Regions from separate parts of the Homo sapiens genome. Here region 2 is linked to region 1. Evidence: promoter capture Hi-C in 16 types of primary human blood cells and fetal thymus (Javierre and others, 2016). All regions are on one chromosome and are shown on one strand. The core of a region is centred on a gene start or on the middle of the fragment in contact, and the rest is flanking DNA. Distances in the headings are between cores, read along the strand shown. Region 1 holds the start of ZDHHC2 (zDHHC palmitoyltransferase 2). Region 2 overlaps MSR1 (macrophage scavenger receptor 1).

Region 1 (4,246 bases), core at 1,747-4,246:
ATTAGCAGTATTAATCATGAAAGTACGGCAGACTTGAGGTTTGGGAACTCAAGAATTTGGGGGACTGGGCTGGAGGGAGAGGAGGAACGTTTAAGGTTCCTGGGCTGGGCACGGTGGCTCACACCTGTAATTCCAACACTTCCGGAGACCGAGGCGGGCGGATCACCAGGTCAGGAGTTTGAGACCAGTTCGGCCAACATACTGAAACCCTGTCTCTACTACAAATACAAAAAATTGGCCGGGCACGGTGGCGGGCACCTGTAATCCCAGCTACTCGGGAAGCTGAGGCAGGAGAATCGCTTGAACCCGGGAGGCGGAGGTTGCAGTGAGCCGAGATGGCGGCATTGCACTCCAGCCCAGGCAACAGTGCGAAATTCTGTCCGCCCCCCCCCCCCAAAAAAAGAGAGATTCCTTCATGGGGCAGGAACTGAAAATAAGAGTTGTGAAAATTTGAGAGGTGAATGATGTTGCTAGACCGCTGAGTGCAAGGAGCATACAGGCAGAGGCCTAGCGAGGATGGAGTCATGGTCATTAGGGACTGGATGAACCCAGCAAGGGGGCTTTTCTCCCGTTCTCAGTCACTCCCCTCACCCCCCTCCTTGCCTGGCTGTCCGCTCGTCTCTTCTCTTCCTTAGCGTCGCCTTCTTCCTCCTTTGCTGTGGCTGGCTTTCTTTTTCATAAGTGGTCATATCAGTTTAATCACAGTTATACATGAAACCTACAATTTCTTATGCTTATTGAACATTTAAATTAAAATTCGTGAGTTGAATCTTCTGTATTTCTAAACAGTAAGTCTCTAGTGAAGTTTCTTCTTGTCTATGACCTTCAAATTATTTTTTCTGTTTATGTAGTCCTAAAGAAAAAGAAAATAAATCAAAGGCTCTCTATACCTCAAAATAAAAGCTCTCCTTCCACTCTCATCAAAGACTAGTATCTAGAGATTGGCTACTCACCAAAGAGCTTACATTTGTGCGTGCTGCTTATGCCTAATTAGAGACTACGCAGAGATCAATCCTGTTATCTTGTGGCTGTGGAGATGCTTCTTCCTAATCCAGACTTTTTCTGTATTTAAGATAAGAGAACTTGAAAAACCCAGTAATAGTAGTATCCTTAAAATGGCAATAACAAAAAAAAGTTGAAAATATTTCACAAATATTTATTATAAATAGGAACAATTAAACAACATCTTAGATGAGTAATAAAAATGTAGCTCCTTCAAAGATATGACACCTGCATACTTTTCCAAAAGGGTAGATGATGTGAAAACTGGGCAGAATGCTATTCCATTTCCGATTTCAAGACCCTGTAGGACTGTGAGAGGAGGAAGAGCACAGGGCATCGTCGCATCCAGGATCTACAGAGGCACTATTTGCACTTTCTCCACCGTTTCCAGTATGGAAAATCCGATTCCTTCCTTTTCATACCTTGATGGTCTCTATTGACCTTCAGTCACTGATTTGCTTCTCTTTGTGAGGGTATTTCAGTCCCAGGAGGAAGTTTTAATTCCTGTTTTTTACTCTCTTCTGATTGGGGGGGAACACAGGATTAATATTCATGGAAAACATTAAGGAATCCAGAGAAGTTTTATTTTTACATTAATATACAGAATATCCACAGAGAATATAAAAGGCTACAGCAAAATCAAGTGATTCACTGGGACATAATATGTCTCTCTTTTCAATTATTTAAAGTCCCACAGAAACTTGACTGACATTTTCTATGCATTTTTGAAGAGAAATGGAAAGAGATGTGGGGTGGGGGGCTGTAACATAGTAGCTATTTCGGGAGAGATTAGCTTGTTGTGTAATCCAGTCACAGAAAGATAATCGCAGACACCAGAGCTAAATTTCTTTGACTGAATTCATGTAAATCAGTATTTTTTTTTTACTTCTACACATGAATAAGAAGTAATTTCATTCACTGTGGTTGCTGTGTGGTGTAAATACACATATTCACTAATGTTAAGAAAAATTGTGCCTATTATGTATAGTAGTGATGCACATAATTTACACACACTCATTGATTGAAATGTTTCCCTGTGGATCAGGTGCGTTCATAATCAGATGAAGGAAAAGCAAAGGAGGCATTTGTTTATTTTCCATTTCGTGAATCATAAAATCAGAGGTTTGGGCTGACTACCTTTAGGTTCCCTTACGGTGTTTTTTGGGAACCGCTTTGGAGTCAGCTATCTGCTAAGTTTGGAATTGCCACCACGAAAGTAAACACCGTAGTGAGGAGCGGGTTGAGGAAAAGAATAAATAGTTGGTGGAAGGAACCACCGTACTTGAGGGAGGGGACAGTGGGAACGGCCCCTGTCACAATCATTTATCCAAAGCATCAACATTCTCAGAGCAAAGAACTTGTGTTTCTAACTCCAGAGGTGCCTGGATTCACAGCCAAAAATGCTTCTTCCTCGCTCTCCACAGCCCCTCCCATGCCAGACGCCGGCTCGGCACCCCCTCTTCGCTGTGCATTTCTGCTTCCCCCGAAAGCCCGAGTAGTAAAGGGAGGCTCCTTGCGGCCCCCGCGGGCTCCCAGGGACCCGCAAGTTGAAGCGCGAGGGTTCCACGCGGGCTGCGGGGACGCGGGCCTCGGTGCTGCAGACTTTCTCAGGGCGCCTGGGTCGCGGCAGGCGCGGAGTCCCGAGCGCAGCAGCTGCTCCGCCGGCCTCGCCTCCGACCCCCGCCCTGCGCCAAGCGCGGAAGCGCTCGCGACCTAACTGCCCCGGGTGCCGGGCGCCTAGGGAGGGGCCGCCACCGCCCGCTCCGCCCCGGGGGCCTGCGCCCAGCAGCCCCCGCCTCCCCGGAATCCAGAGGCCGAGCCGGAGGCGGCGGGGCCACGGTGGGAGCCCGCGAGGTGGCCCGAGCGAGGGCCCCGCATCCCCGCAGAGCCCGCCCGAGGGCGCAGCCTGCCACGCCAGGGGAGGCGGCCGGGCGGCGGGGAACGGCGGGGGCGGAGCGCAGCCTCCCGACGCCGCCGCCTCACCGCCCCCCTCCGCCTCCTCGGCCTCCGCTCGCAGCCGCCGCCTCCGCCTCCGCCGGGCTGAGGAGCCGGGAGTCCGCCGCGCCGGCTCGGGGCTGCGGGATGGGGAGTTAGCGCCACGGCGGCGGCAGTGGCCGCAGCGCACCCCGCCGCCGCCCAGGAGCCCGTCCAGCCAGGGGTGCCGGGCCCGCCCAGCCCGCCCCGGAGCCAGGCCCGCGGGCGGCGGCGGAGCTGGGCAGGTGGATGCGGCTGGAAGATGGCGCCCTCGGGCCCGGGCAGCAGCGCCAGGCGGCGGTGCCGGCGGGTGCTGTACTGGATCCCGGTGGTGTTCATCACCCTCCTGCTCGGCTGGTCCTACTACGCCTACGCCATCCAGCTGTGCATAGGTGAGTGCGCCCCCCGCCGCGGCGCCCCCAGCGCAGCGCAGCCCACCCCGACTGTCCCGGGACGCTCAGCCGCTCCTCCGCTCTCGCCCCCCGGATGCGCCCCGGGCGCTGCCAACCTGCCGCGTCCCGCCGGCTCCGCCGCTAAAAGCAGCCTCGGGGCAGCTTCTTCCACGCGCACGCCCCTCGCCCTCCCCTCCCAACTCTCGGGTTAAGGTGGCGCCTCCGCCCCGCACTCGCCGCCGAGCCTCCCGCCGCCTTCCGCTCACCGCCGCCGCCTCGGCCACACCCCCTAGAGGGGCGGAAGGTCCCCGGGACCGCTGTGGAGAGGGGAGGCCGAGGCCGGCGAGGCGCGCCGGGGGCTGAAGGGCTGAGCTGGGCCCGGCCCCGAGCTGCGCCAGACCCGCGCGGGGGTGCTGGCCTTGGCGGCGGAGCTGGATCCCTTGCTGGTTGGCGTCAATGCACTTGTTAAAAATTTGTGACAGCGCTCAGGGGCGTTTTTGCTGCCTTTATGATTTGAGGATTGCCAGTTGGACACTTTTCTAGTTTAAAAGGATGTGGAGGAGGTGAGCTACTAGAAAGTATTTTTGAGGACATGTGCAACACACTAAACCATAATTTAGGTGTTTGAACAGTAGGGAGAGAAAAAAAGAGGTGATCGTCTGAGGTTTTTACATCCAGAGAGCGAAGTGGCTCCAGTCCGAGTTCGAGGTTCCTGAATTGGTGGGTAGGATACTTTTAATGCTGAAGATTAAAATTTTTTAAAAAGTTGATTATTATGCACAAGTAGGGAGTACAATGATGTCGCTTAATGTAAGCTGGTTTCTACCTTCAGGGGTTTTATGAAAACTGATCTGGGTTATCAGAAAAAGATGTTAAAA
Region 2 (4,551 bases), core at 272-2,771, 990 kb before region 1:
TACAGCAAAGCAAAAGAAACATAAAATAAACTGGAAAAAACCAGAGCACATGATAAGATAGTGGAAATAAATACAGTGCAAAGAGATGGTCAGATTGTATATTTTTTTAAAAGAAAAGGTAAGTATTCATTACAAGAGACTAACCTAAAACAAAGAATACCAACAGGCAAAAGGTTGCAATCAAAATATAGAAAAATACATGCAAATGGTTGAAATCAAAATATAGAAAATCAAAATCAAAATATAGAAATCAAAAAATCAAAATATAGAAAAAATCTATAATGTAAAGCTAAAACTAAAATATCTAAAATGTAAAGCTAAAACTGAAAGCCTATATATATAAAGAAAGCATATATACATATATTTTATTTATATATATAAGTAAGATCCAATTCACCTTATTTCACTAACAGGCACTGCAGAAGAAATGGACAAATCCATCATTATTTTGGAGAGTTCAAAAGATCCTTTTAATTAATAATACAGTCAAGTAAGAAATAAAAAAGACTGGAAGTTTTGGAAAAGCAATATTAACAAGCTTGGTTTGTGAACATGTGAAGAAACTTGTAATTACAAAAAACTTGTATTCAGTACTTATGAGGTAGTTTTTAACAATGAGAAAATCATTAGACCTTAAGATATATTTTGCTTTTCCCTTTCTATTTAAGTGATACCAGGCTACTGGTTATCGTACCCTGTCTTTATCTGATTTTCATATTCTTTCCTTTGGGTATTTGCAGTAAATGTAAGCTCAGAAACTATTTATTTCAAACCATAGGATTTCAAATATCAAATCTCTGCATGTATCAGTATATTTTAATATATATATCATTTTCTGGAGAAATGACAAGACATTTTACCTTGAATTAAAGTGATATTTCTCAAGGTCTGAGAATGTTCCCAATCTTTCAGTCTGAGATCATTAGTGATGTTATTCAGTACTTTCACTTCTCCTTTTATTTCCTGTTCCAAATGCACTTGTTCTTCTTTCATAGCCATAATTTCTGCTGATACATTGTAAACACGCTCCTCTAATTTACTGATTTCCTGTAAAACATAAGTGAGCATTCACAGCCTTTGTTACATACATAATTATCAAATATGAAAGTTCAAGAAACCCTCGGAGTTCAGGTTTTTAAAAACATATTATGGGAGTTTTATGGAATAAGAATATAGAAATTAGAAAACTGTTTTGAAAGTAGTAATTCTTTAATTGTGAAACATTTCCTCTTTTGACTGAATGGCTGAATGTTTACAATCACAACCCCCTTCAAAAATCAATTTAATGTATCTATGATATGTTTCTATTCCTATATATATAGATGTCAAAATTCTAACAATAAAATTAAATAAACACCATAAGGTCTTAATTTATCTGAAGTAAAATGTCTTCGTACTGTACTTACAGTGGCAACATAGTCAAATTTCGTGAATTTGATAGATTTATATTGGAAATTGTTTTATAGTAATAAGTGAAGTTTAATGTCATAATCCTCAGTGGTGATGATCATTGACAATAGATTTTCATACTCAATAAAACCTCGAACTCGCATATTAACAGTGCTTTACTTTCAGTTTGCATTGCCTCTGTATTTGAGGCATTAGTATTTTGTGTTTTCAAATACACGTATATTTTGTGTATATTTATACATACACATTCATATACTTAAGAGTGTGAAAAAGACAGAGGATCTACCTATATCCTGGAATATGCTTTTATATTTTACTCAATAATATATTAAGGATATTTATCTATTAAAATACTTTAGAGACTGATATTTTCAGTAATTTAGTGGAATTGAATCTATTTCTCAAAATTTATTTAGGATTCCTATTCATAGTGTTTTGAGCTGTGCACTTTTCTACAACTAAACAATGCTGCCATGAACATCATTTTAAATATATTTGTATATTGATATAAGTACTTCTATAGAACATCTTCCTGAAGTGGATTTGACCAAAGGGACTAAACATTAAACAGCATTTTTGTTCAACCATTGCCGTACTACTCTCCAAATATATGCTACCATTTTTCTTCCTCTTACTGCGTATCAGCGTCCACTTTTTGCAGCTGAATACTGGGTACCATTAATATATTTAAGTTTGCATAGTAAGAGTAGGTACATAGCAAATCATTATTACTTAACTTGTTTTTCAAATTATAGTGAGGTTAAAGTATCCAGTCATTAAATTTCTGACGATTAATGTTTATTAATTTTTCTTTTAGATCATTTGCTTGGTTTTCTCTTTCAGCATTGGGCTTTTTATTTTTGATGAACCAAATGTTCTCATCTATTCTGGTAATAATTTTTGTCTCTCTGTTCTACTTTTATCCCATTTTCTGTCTTCATTGTATGCTTTATTATTGTATTAAGTACTCCTATGTTCTAAAGTTGATAGATACTCATTTCCGATTTGCACATGGGGAAATAAGCCAGTGGTATGTTTTTCTTTAATCCAGAAGTAAAAAGAATATTACACTCTCTTGAGCTGGACTAGACTAGACAAGCTTAGGTGAGAGGATCAAGATGGTCAGAGTGTAGGACCTTCGAAAATAAATGAATGTGCGTCTAGATTTGCCTCTTCAATGACACTATACTGAAGCAGAGAGACTTACCAGCTTTTATTGCTCTAACTGTGCCTTCTCCCAAACAAAACCTTATTCTAGATTAGAATTTCTCTATCTTGCACCTCCTCCTCCCCTGACCATTTAATATTTTCTGTACAATACCATCATTACAATAAAGGTGAAATAGTGAGCATGGATGTTTGTAGGGCACACCGCCATGATAAATACACTTGACTTAATTTAGGGGGCTAAAAATTGCTGCAAGTATGTCGGGTAGTTCCAGACATTCAGCATAAAGTGTTAAGTGACTAGACAGTGATTTTGCTTCCTAGAAACGAGGAATCATCCAGGTTTTTCATCATACCTAAAAGCTGAGGCTACTTTTTCTTTCTTTTTTTTTTTTTTTTTTTTTTTTGAGACGGAGTCTCGCACTGTCACCCAGGCTGGAGTGCAATGGCATGATCTCGGCTCCCTGCAACCTCCACCTCCTGGGTTCAAGTGGTTCTCCCGAGTAGCTGGGATTACAGGTGCACACTACCACACCTGACTAATTTTTTTTTTTTTAATTTTGTAGAGATGGGGTTTCACTATGTTGGCCAGACTGGTCTCGAACTCCTGACCTCGTGGTCCACCCACCTCGGCCTCCCAAAGTGCTGGGATTACAGGTGTGAGGCACTGCGCCTGGCAGCTGAGGCTGCCTTATTATTCCCTTCTTTGAAAACTGCACATGGTGTTTACATTTGTCAAATTTCAGTGGAAATTATTTTCACTGGGAGGAGGAAAAGTGTATTTAATTTCAAAAAATCCTATATAGCATCCACACACTCCCTCCACATGCTACCACCAGTGACCCTCCTAGAAACAGGCATTTAATTTTGTAGTCGTACAGTCCTTTTCACCTCTATGGATGATGATAAATGCCACCCCTGTCTTTCATTTGGTGCCAATGTTCTTCCTCTTTCTTTCAAATTAATTTTTGGTGTGTCCTTGATAAGTGTTATGCTGGTGTCACTTATAACCTATTTCCTCAAACGCCATTTACAAATTCAGGCATTCATTTAATTTATTTATTCCTACATTGAGCTAAAGATTCAAAGGTCAATAAAATTATTCAAGCAATGGGGATGAGCGTCCCAATGTTGTTTTTCAGTGTACACAGGAGTACACACACACACACACACACACACACACACACATGCACGCACTGGCACTGACCTAGTTTCTAAGTCTCTGTGAGTGACTACTGTTTTTAAAGATGTATATAGCTTTCAAACTTTCACCATTCCCTTGCATTTCCTTTTCTAATGCTGGAATTCCCTCCAAAATTTAAGTGTAATCTATCGAAACTCAAACAGCTCACTGATCACCAGATTTTGATCGTTTCCATTAATTATCACTTCAAACAGGTTCAAAATTTCTACCACCTTCCAGATAGTTTCCAATTTGCTTTCAATTCCTCATGTTTGGGTTCAAAAGCATTCGATGGTCAGCCAGGCGCAGTGGTTCATGCCTGTAATCCCAGCACCTTGGGAGGCCAAGACGGGCAGATCACCTGAGGCCAGGAGTTCGAGATCAGCCTGGCCAACATGGTGCAAACTCTGTCTCCACTAAAAATACAGAAATTAGCCGGGTGAGGTAGCACGTACCTTTGATCCCAGCTACATGGGAGGCTAAGGCACGAGAATCACTTGAACCTGGGAGGCAGAGGTTGCAGTGAGCCATGATCTCACCATTGCACTCCAGCCTGGGCAACAGAGTGAGACTCCATCTCAAAAACAAACAAACAAACAAACAAACAAAAACATTCCATGGTCTCTGCAGGATTTAATGCACTGCCAGAATCAAATGTATCCTTCTTCTTCCATCTCATCCACCTTCCCTCTGTCCTTACCTCATCTCAGTGCTCTTCTGACCCTATTTCTACATAAATAGTATTTCTTCTCCATTCTTCTTTCCCCTCAACTTAATCAATGTCTATCCTG

Evidence for each region. Contacts are between HindIII fragments. The CHiCAGO score rates a contact against its expected background, and 5 or more counts as called.
Region 2: a contact is called between a fragment that was not itself captured here and the fragment with the promoter of ZDHHC2 in region 1, in 4 of 17 cell types (M1 macrophages, M0 macrophages, monocytes and 1 more). The highest score is 6.2, in M1 macrophages.

What each region holds. Positions count from the first base shown.
Region 1 is chr8:17,153,486-17,157,731 of GRCh38, forward strand. It overlaps ZDHHC2 (zDHHC palmitoyltransferase 2), which reads left to right and starts at 2,997. Exons shown (of 13, transcript NM_016353.5): 1 at 2,997-3,368. The coding sequence starts at 3,239. RefSeq lists a silencer at 2,456-3,815. The HindIII fragment of the contact is 4,757 bases long and covers 1-4,246 here.
Region 2 is chr8:16,163,205-16,167,755 of GRCh38, forward strand. MSR1 (macrophage scavenger receptor 1) reads right to left here. Exons shown (of 10, transcript NM_138715.3): 5 at 861-1,047. Among named protein-coding and RNA genes, the nearest start is that of MSR1, 27 kb to the right of the region's middle. The HindIII fragment of the contact is 1,971 bases long and covers 537-2,507 here.